Linked DNA regions of Homo sapiens: all the other regions are linked to region 1. Evidence: promoter capture Hi-C in human tissues and cell types (Jung and others, 2019). All regions are on one chromosome and are shown on one strand. The core of a region is centred on a gene start or on the middle of the fragment in contact, and the rest is flanking DNA. Distances in the headings are between cores, read along the strand shown. Region 1 holds the start of C8orf76 (chromosome 8 open reading frame 76). Region 2 has its middle 30 kb from the start of ZHX1-C8orf76. Region 3 overlaps FAM83A (family with sequence similarity 83 member A).

Region 1 (2,718 bases), core at 151-2,650:
CTCCACCTCAAAAAAAAAAAAAAGAAAAGAAAAAAATCACTTCATTTTAGAATTTATATTAAATTCTATGCACCTGTACAGCACATCAGATCTGACAAAGTATTTTCATATACATTATCTCATTTCACTCCCACGATAACTCTGTGAGCCAGCATGTATTATTTTTCTGAAGGGACAAATAAGGAGCTGACACCTTCAAGGCAAGTGGTTAAAGCCAACACTGGAATTCAAGAGTCCTATCTCATAACCAGAGTTTTTTTAATGTTCTGCCACATGATTTCCAAGCCCAATCCCTGTTTTGAGTCTACATGATCCAGGGCTGAAGGTAACTTTGAAAGATCGTATGTGATAAGGAGAAAATGCAACTGAAATAACCAAAAACACAATTCAGTAATTATCGAGTGCCTGGCATCTTGTCAGTACAATTGTGAGGAACGAATGAGACAGTATATGCGAAGGAACCCACCACAGTGCCCGGAACACTTCCGTATTTTCCATAAATATTAGTTTTGACTGATGAACTATTTACACTCATGAAAGAATAGGAAGTAATACTCTACTAATTCAAAAATATTCGCGGAGTCACTATTATTAATAAAAACTGTTAGGCACTGCCAAGGGCATCAAGAACCCATGCTGGTGCGATCATTTAGCACTCCGGGTCTCAGGACTTTGTGGGAATACTGACAAGTGCTTTAAGTAGAAGCTAAATAGAGGGAAGGGGGCCAAAGACAAAAATATTTGGCTGGAAGACGAAATCAGAAAAGACTTCCTAGAGGAGATGACATTTAAGATGTGCCTTGAAAAACGGATATAACTGAAGGACTTTAACCATCAGCGCGGGGTTGGTACGGGCAGGGGGAGCTCGCCGAAGAGGGAGGGGAGAGTGGGTTTGCCGGAGGTCACCGTTTTGGGAGGCCTGACTGCCCAGCTGTAAGAGCAGTGAAGACAAACGGGAGGTACCGGAGATTGCAGGGCAGGGGCGTTGAGACCAGCCGGCAGCAGCCAGGCCGGCCAAATGCCAAGTGGGAGTCAAGCCGCTTACAACGCGGGGATTCTCGCCCATGGACCCGGAATGGGGCCTGGGAAAGCCGCTTCCCCGTGGAGGAGGAGGGACGGCGGGGGACGCGGCGGGCGCTGGAGCCTGCCAGGGTTTGCGTTCGCGCGGACGGAGGGGCCGAGGCCGGGGCCGGGGCCCCGCGGAGGGCGAGGCCTGGGGCCCGGGATAAGGCGAAGAGGCCCCAGCTTCTCACCTGCGGCTCGCAGAGCTTGGCGCAGTAGGACGCGGGCGGTCCTGACCGCCGCTCCGGCCTCTCCTCGAACACCGAGTCCTCGAACTCGCCGCCGAACAACCAGCACCCGGAATCCATCTCGCGCCCGCGGCGGGGGCAACGAGGAAGCGGGGCCCGCCGGAAAAGGCGGGGCTTCCACGGCCCAGAGCGCGGCACGCTGGGACTTGTAGTCTTTGAGGGCGACGCGGGGACGTGGCCGCTGCTGGTTGGGAGTAGTGGTTGAGCTGAGATGATTATCTGACCCACTAACTGACCGAACCCCAGGACGGAGGTTTTGACTTCTCTGTGTCAGGAGATGGACAGAATGATCCTTACCTGCACGCATCAAAAAGCACGCTGGCCCCAGAGTAGCTGTTTAAAACTCGCAGGTACCTTTTTAAAAATTAAAATAAGAGGCCGGGCGCGGTGGCTCAAGCCTGTAATCCCAGCACTTTGGGAGGCCAAGGTGGGCGGATCACTTGAGGTCGGGAGTTCGAGACCAGCCTGACCAACATTGAGTAACCAGGTCTGTACTGAAAATACAAAAATTAGCCGGCCGTAGTGGCGCGCGCCTGTAATCCCAGCTACTCGGTAGGCTGAGGCAGGAGAATCGCTTGAACCCGGGAGGCGGAGGTTGCGGTGAGCCAAGATCGCATCATTGCACTCCAGCCTAGGCAACAAGAGTGAAACTTCGTCTCAAAATAAAAAATAAAATAAAATAAAATAAATAAAATAATTTCGAGACAGGGTCTCGCTCTGTCGCCCAGGTTGGAGTGCAGTGGTGAGATCATGGCTCACTGCAGCCTCGAACTCCCAGACTCAACCTATCATCCCGCCTCAGTCCCCCAAGTAGCTGGGGCTACAGGCGCGCGCCACCATGACCGTCTAACTTGTGTATTTTTTGTGGAGACTGGGTTTCCCTACGTTGCCCAGGCTGGTCTCGAACCTGATCTCAAGCGATCCGCCCACCTCGTTCTCCCAAAGTGCTGGGATTATAGGCGTGAGCCACTAAGCCCGGTGCAAGTACCAATTGTCAACCACTGTGCATTCCCGTCACTGTGTTAAGCACATTTTTTCTTTTCGGCTAACAACCACCTTATGAAAGCCAAAGTGATTCCCATTTTGCAAATCCTATTTTGAAGATATTGGAGTTTGGAGAGGTTAAGTAACTTGTTAAGTTTCGGTCATTATGTGGCTGAAACTTGGGAAATACAGAAATGAATGCGTACTCTCCGTGCTTCCGGACAAGAGACACTACCACCAATAACAAAGACCGGAGTCATTCACGCATTTATGAAAGAAAAGACACAGAAATATACCGTGGGAGGCTAGATCAGGGAGCATTCATTCGACCTGGAGAACACCAAATCTCAAAATTCTAAGACTAACATTTACTACAATTCTTATACTTTTAAGATATTTCTTGACTCTAGAAAGTAAAGATTGT
Region 2 (2,718 bases), core at 90-2,589, 63 kb after region 1:
GTTTTGAAATCAGGAAGTATGAATCCTCCTGCTTTGTTCTTCTTTTTCTTTTTCTTTTTTATTTTTTTTGAGACGGAGTCTTGCTCTGTCACCCAGGCTGGAGTGCAGTGGCACGATTTCGGCTCGCTGCAAGCTCTGCCTCCCGGGTTTACACCATTCTCCTGCCTCAGCCTCCCGAGTAGCTGGGACTACAGGCGCCCGCCACCGTGCCTGGCTAAGTTTTTGTATTTTTAGTAGAGACGGGGTTTCACCGTGTTAGTCAGGATGGTCTCGATCTCCTGACCTCGTGATCTGCCCGCCTCAGCCTCCCAAAGTGCTGGGATTACAGGCGTGAGCCACGGCACCCGGCTCTTCTTTTTCAATATGGTTTTGGCTATTCAAGGTGTTGTGAGATTCCATATGAAATTTAGAATGGGTTTTCCTATTTTTGCAAAAAAAAAAAAAAATCCCGAAAAGTCATTGGGGTTTTAATGGGGATTGCATTGAATTTGTAGATCACTTGGGGTTATGTTGACCTCATTGACAGTATTAAGTCTTCTAATCCATGAACATGGGATGTGTTTCAATTTATATATGTCTTCACTAATTTCTTTCAGCAATGGCTTGTAGTTTTCATTGTACAAGTCTTTCACCTCCTTGGTTCAGCTAATATCAAATATTTTATTCTTTTTGTTGCTATTGTAAATGGAATTGTTCTTGCAATTTCCTTTTCAGATTGTTCATTGTGTTTAGAAATGCAGTTGATTTTGTGTGTTGACTTGGTAACCTGCTACTTTGCTGAATTCACTTACTAGCTCTTAACAGTTTTTTCTTTGGTGTGTGTGTGTGTGCATGTAATCTTTGTTTTTTTCTGCTTATAAGGTCTATCTGCAAACAGATAGTTTTACTTCTTCCTTTCCAACATAAATGCTTTTTATTTTATTTTTTTTCCTAAATGCTCTGGCTAGAACCTCCAGTACTACATTGAATAGAAGTTGCAAAAGTGGGCTTCCTTGTCTTCTCCCTGATCTTGGAGGAAAAGCTTTCAGTCTTTCACAATTGGGTATGATGTTTGCTGTGGATTTTCACATATAGCTTTACGTTGAGGTAGTTTCCTGCTATTCCTAGTTTGTTGAGTGTTTTTATAATAAAAGGGTGCTAAATTTTGTCAAATGCCTTTTTACTGAATCAACTGAGATGATCATGTGTTTTTCCCCTTCATTCTGCTAATTTAGTGTATTACATTGATCGATTTTTGTATATTGAATCATCCTTGCATTCCAGGAATACATCTTACTTAGTCATGGCGTACAATCCTTTTTTTTTTTTTTAATTGATATGGAGTCTCACTCTGTCACCCAGGCTAGAGTGCAGTGGCATGATCTTGAGTTACTGCAACCTCTGCCTCCTGAGTTCAAGCAATTCTCCTGCCTCAGCCTCCCAAGTAGCTGGGATTACAGGCGTGAGCCACCACGCCCGGCTAATTTTTTGTATTTTTAGTGGGGATGGGGTTTCACCATGTTGACTGGTCTGGTCTCGAACTCCTGACCACAAGTGATCCACCCACCTTGGCCTCCCAAAGTGCTAGGATTACAGGAGTGAGCCACACGCCTGGCCTACAATCCTTTTAATATGCTGCTGAATTCAGTTTGCTAGTATTTTATGGAGGATTTTTACATCAGTGTTTGTAAAGGATACTAAAGAAAACTACAAATATTTGTCTGTAGTTTTCTTAGGTACTGTCTTTGGATTTGGTATCAGGACAATTCTGGCTACAGAATGAGTTAGAAAGTGTTCCTTTGTTAAAATAATTTTTTTTTTTTAGAAAAGTTTGAGGATTGGTATAGTTCTTTAAATGTTTGCTAGAATTCACTGGTGAAGCCATCAGGTCCAGGGTTTTTCTTTATCAGGAAATTTTTGATTACAAATTCAGTCTCTTTGTTATTGATCTATTCAGATTTTCTATTTCTCTATGATTTAGTGTTGGTAGGTTTTGTGTTTCTGTAAATGTGTCCATTTCATCTAGTGTATCCAACTTGTTGGCATATAATTGCTCACAGTACTATTATAATCCTTTATATTTCTGTAACATCAGTAATAATGTCCCCATTTTCATTTCTGACTTTATTTCATTTATTTATGTATTTATTTACTTATTTTTGAGATAGAGTTTCACTCTGTCTCCCGGGCTGGAGTGCAGTGGTCCGATCTCATCTCAATGTAACCTCCACCTCCCAGGTTCAAGCAATTCTCCTGCCTCAGCCTCCTGAGTAGCTGGGATTACAGGTGCCCACCACACCTGGCTAATTTTTGTATTTTTAGTAGAGACAGGGTTTCACCATGTTGGCTAGGCTGGTCTCGAACTCCTGACCTCAAGTGATCCACCTGCCTTGGTCTCCCAAAATGGTATTACAGGCGTGAGCTACTGTGCCCGGCCTAATTTCTGACTTTAGTAACGTGTCTTCTCTCATCTTTTCCTAGTCCATCCAGCTAAAAGTTTGTTGATTGCATTGTTTCAAAGAACCAATGTTTAGTTTCATTAATTTTCTCTGTTGTTCTTCTATTCCTTATGTTGTTTTTCTCTGCTCTAATCTTTAATATTTCTTTTTTTCTGTTAGCTTTTGGTTGTTTGCTTTTTTTCTTCTAGTTCCTTAAGTTGTAAAACTAGGTTATTGATTTGAGATCTTTCTTGTTTTTCAATGGAAATGTTTATAGTCATAAAGTACCCCTTAGCACTGT
Region 3 (2,718 bases), core at 100-2,599, 51 kb before region 1:
GCCTTCAACCCACTATACCTTCTTAGGAAGAACAGTGGTCCAAACCAGTTACTGGCTTCAAATTAATCCAGCTGGAAGACAATCCCAACAGGAAGCAAACAAGATAAACCTAGACAGGGTGAGCCTGTATTTCCAAGCATCCTTTAATTCAAGATGCTGGGTTATTTCCAAACCTGCCCCTGTCTCTGTTCAATCACCAGCTCACCAGCCCTGTCTCAGGAAAATGATGATTCATTGGCATAGAACTGGAAGTACTTACTGACCTATCAGGGAGGGAGGGAATTGTTTCTTTTGTCAATACCTTGGAAGAGGAGGCATTTATCTTTCAGCAAACAGGGAAAGCCTAAGCTGCTTTCAGTGCTATAAGGCTAAATGTGTGCAAGACAATTAATTGTGTGATTACAGGGCCATGGTTCTAATGATCACAGCCTCATTATTAGAACATCTTTTCCGATTTCCTGCCCAGGGTGAGCAATCTCTGAGGAGTTCCCTCCCCTGTCCAGCTATCCATCCACATCACAGAAAGTTGATTCCAAGTGGATACCAGCCATCAGTTTGGCCTGCCAGTAAGACACCTCTCTTTCCTTGGCTACTTCCCAGATGGCGGTGGTTTTAAAAAATATATTGCAATGATTAGAAAGATAGTGGAAACTTATTATTACAGGTAATCTTGAAGAAAGGGAATGGCCGTATTCCCTGTGAAAGGAAAGTATCTTTGGCCCCCAAAATCACTAAGGAAAACTCAAGCTGGAAACTGCTTAGGGCAAACCTGCCTCCCATTCTATTCAAAGTCACCGCTCTGCTCACTGAGATAGATGCATATCTGATGCCTCCTTTGGAAAGACTAATCAGAAACTCAAAAGAATGCAACAGTTTTTGTCTTACTTATCTGTGGCCTGGATGCTCCCTCCTGGCTTTGAGTCTTCCTGCCTTTGCTTCCAGTTGTCCCACCTTTCCAGATTGAACCAAAGTACTTCTTACATCTATTAATTGATGTCTCATGTCTCCCTAAAATGTATAAAATCAAGCTGTGCCCCGACCACCTTGGGCACATGTCGTCAGGACTTCCTCGGGCATGTCCTCAACCTTGGCAAAATAAACTTTCTAAATTAACTGAGCCCTGTTTTATTTTCTGGGTTCACATCCCCCATCCTAACATGACTGTTAGTTTTTGCTTTGGGCTTACCTACAATCATGTACGGAATAATGACATTTTGGTTACTAACAGACCACATCTATGACAGTGCTCCCATAAGATTATAATGGAGCAGGTGGGGTGGCTCACTCCTGTAATCCCAGCAATTTGGGAGGCTGAGGCTTAAGGATTGCTTAAGCCCAACAGTTCGAGACCAGCCTGGGCAACATAGTGAAACCCCATGTCTACAGAAAAAAAATGAAAGAGAGAGAGGAAGAAAAGAAAGAAAAGAAAGAAAGAAAGAAGAAAGAAAGAAAGAAAATTAACATTTTAAATTTTTATGTATTTTCTTATTTTTTTATTTTGAGACAGAGTCTCTTTCTGTCACCCAGGCTGGAGTGCAGTGGTGCGATCTCGGCTCACTGCAACCTCTGCCTCCTGGGTTCAAGCGATTCTCTTGCCTCAGCCTCCCCAGTAGCTGGGACTATAGGCGTGCACTACCAGTCCAGCTAATTTTTTTTTTTTTTTTTAGTAGAGACGAGCTTTCACCATGTTGATCAGGCTGGTCTCGAGCTCCAGATCTCAAATGATCCGCCCGCCTCGGCCTCCCAAAGTGTTGGTATTACAGGCGTGAGCCACCGCGCCCGGCAGTAATTAACATTTTTAATGACTGCCTAATAAGCTGCTTGTCAGTATATCACAATTAAGGTATTAGAAAGGACTCATGACTGGGTGACAGAGAGTAAACCCAAACAAGCTTAAGAAGAAGAGAAACATTCATTAACATCCACAGTGGAAAAGTCAAGGGTGGCACTGGTCTCAGGCATGGCTGGAACCAGGTGTCCAAATGACAATGCTGGGACTCTGTCTCTACCTCCTGGCTGCTTTCTCCAGGGATGGCTTCATTGTCAGGCAGGCTCTCCCCAAGAGGTAGCAAAAATGGTTGCCAGCAGCCATTGCTTATAAAATACCAGCTAAGCAACCTCGTAGAAAGAACACCTCCTTTTCCCAGGAGTCCCAGCTAAAGTCCTGGGCTGACTCTTATTAGAATAACTTAGATCATGTGACCACCTCTGGACCAATGTCTGTGGCCAACAGGGGATGCCATGCTCCCATTGGTCTAGCCTTGGTCATGTGGTCTCCCCATATCCAGTCAAAGAATGGCAATAGACCCTTCCAAACCACATTGATTGTGGAGGGGAGGCAATTACTTAAAGTCAGATTGGGATGCTGTTGACAGAAGAAGGGAGAATGAATGCTTGGCAGGAGGAACACAGATGTCTCTCCTGCTCACTGAAGGTCTAGAACTCCCCTCCCCAGTTTCTACTGTGACACATGATGCAGTAGCTGTGGGTAGAGCGTGACTCCCTTCTCCATCCCACGGGGAGCAGCTTGCTCTAGGCGCTTATATACGGTGCCTCCACATGGGATTTTGTTTGAGGATAGGATTCCACGGCTTAACAGCATTTGAAAATCAGTGGCCATAGTGTGCCCTCTAGCTCCAAGTGGCTGAGAATCCATAACCTTAACTTTATTCCTCTTCTGGAACCGGTTGAGATGCTTCTTCTTGTTCTTCTCTGCTC

Evidence for each region. The method cuts DNA at HindIII sites, captures the fragments that hold promoters and counts their contacts. A contact is called where the count stands out against the background at its distance.
Region 2: a fragment that was not itself captured here is called in contact with the fragment with the promoter of C8orf76 in region 1 in 1 of the 25 tissues and cell types used here (IMR-90 fibroblasts).
Region 3: a fragment that was not itself captured here is called in contact with the fragment with the promoter of C8orf76 in region 1 in 3 of the 25 tissues and cell types used here (IMR-90 fibroblasts, aorta and thymus).

What each region holds. Positions count from the first base shown.
Region 1 is chr8:123,239,977-123,242,694 of GRCh38, forward strand. It overlaps C8orf76 (chromosome 8 open reading frame 76), which reads right to left and starts at 1,401. Exons shown (of 6, transcript NM_032847.3): 1 at 1,254-1,401. The coding sequence starts at 1,370. All of the region lies in intron 2 of ZHX1-C8orf76 (ZHX1-C8orf76 readthrough), which reads right to left. RefSeq lists an enhancer at 1,187-1,687 and a silencer at 1,188-1,307. The HindIII fragment of the contact is 18,562 bases long and covers 1-2,718 here.
Region 2 is chr8:123,302,797-123,305,514 of GRCh38, forward strand. No RefSeq gene overlaps it. Among named protein-coding and RNA genes, the nearest start is that of ZHX1-C8orf76, 30 kb to the left of the region's middle. The HindIII fragment of the contact is 3,571 bases long and covers 1-2,718 here.
Region 3 is chr8:123,188,780-123,191,497 of GRCh38, forward strand. The region is part of intron 1 of FAM83A (family with sequence similarity 83 member A); the gene reads left to right. Among named protein-coding and RNA genes, the nearest start is that of FAM83A-AS2, 7.4 kb to the left of the region's middle. The HindIII fragment of the contact is 6,941 bases long and covers 1-2,718 here.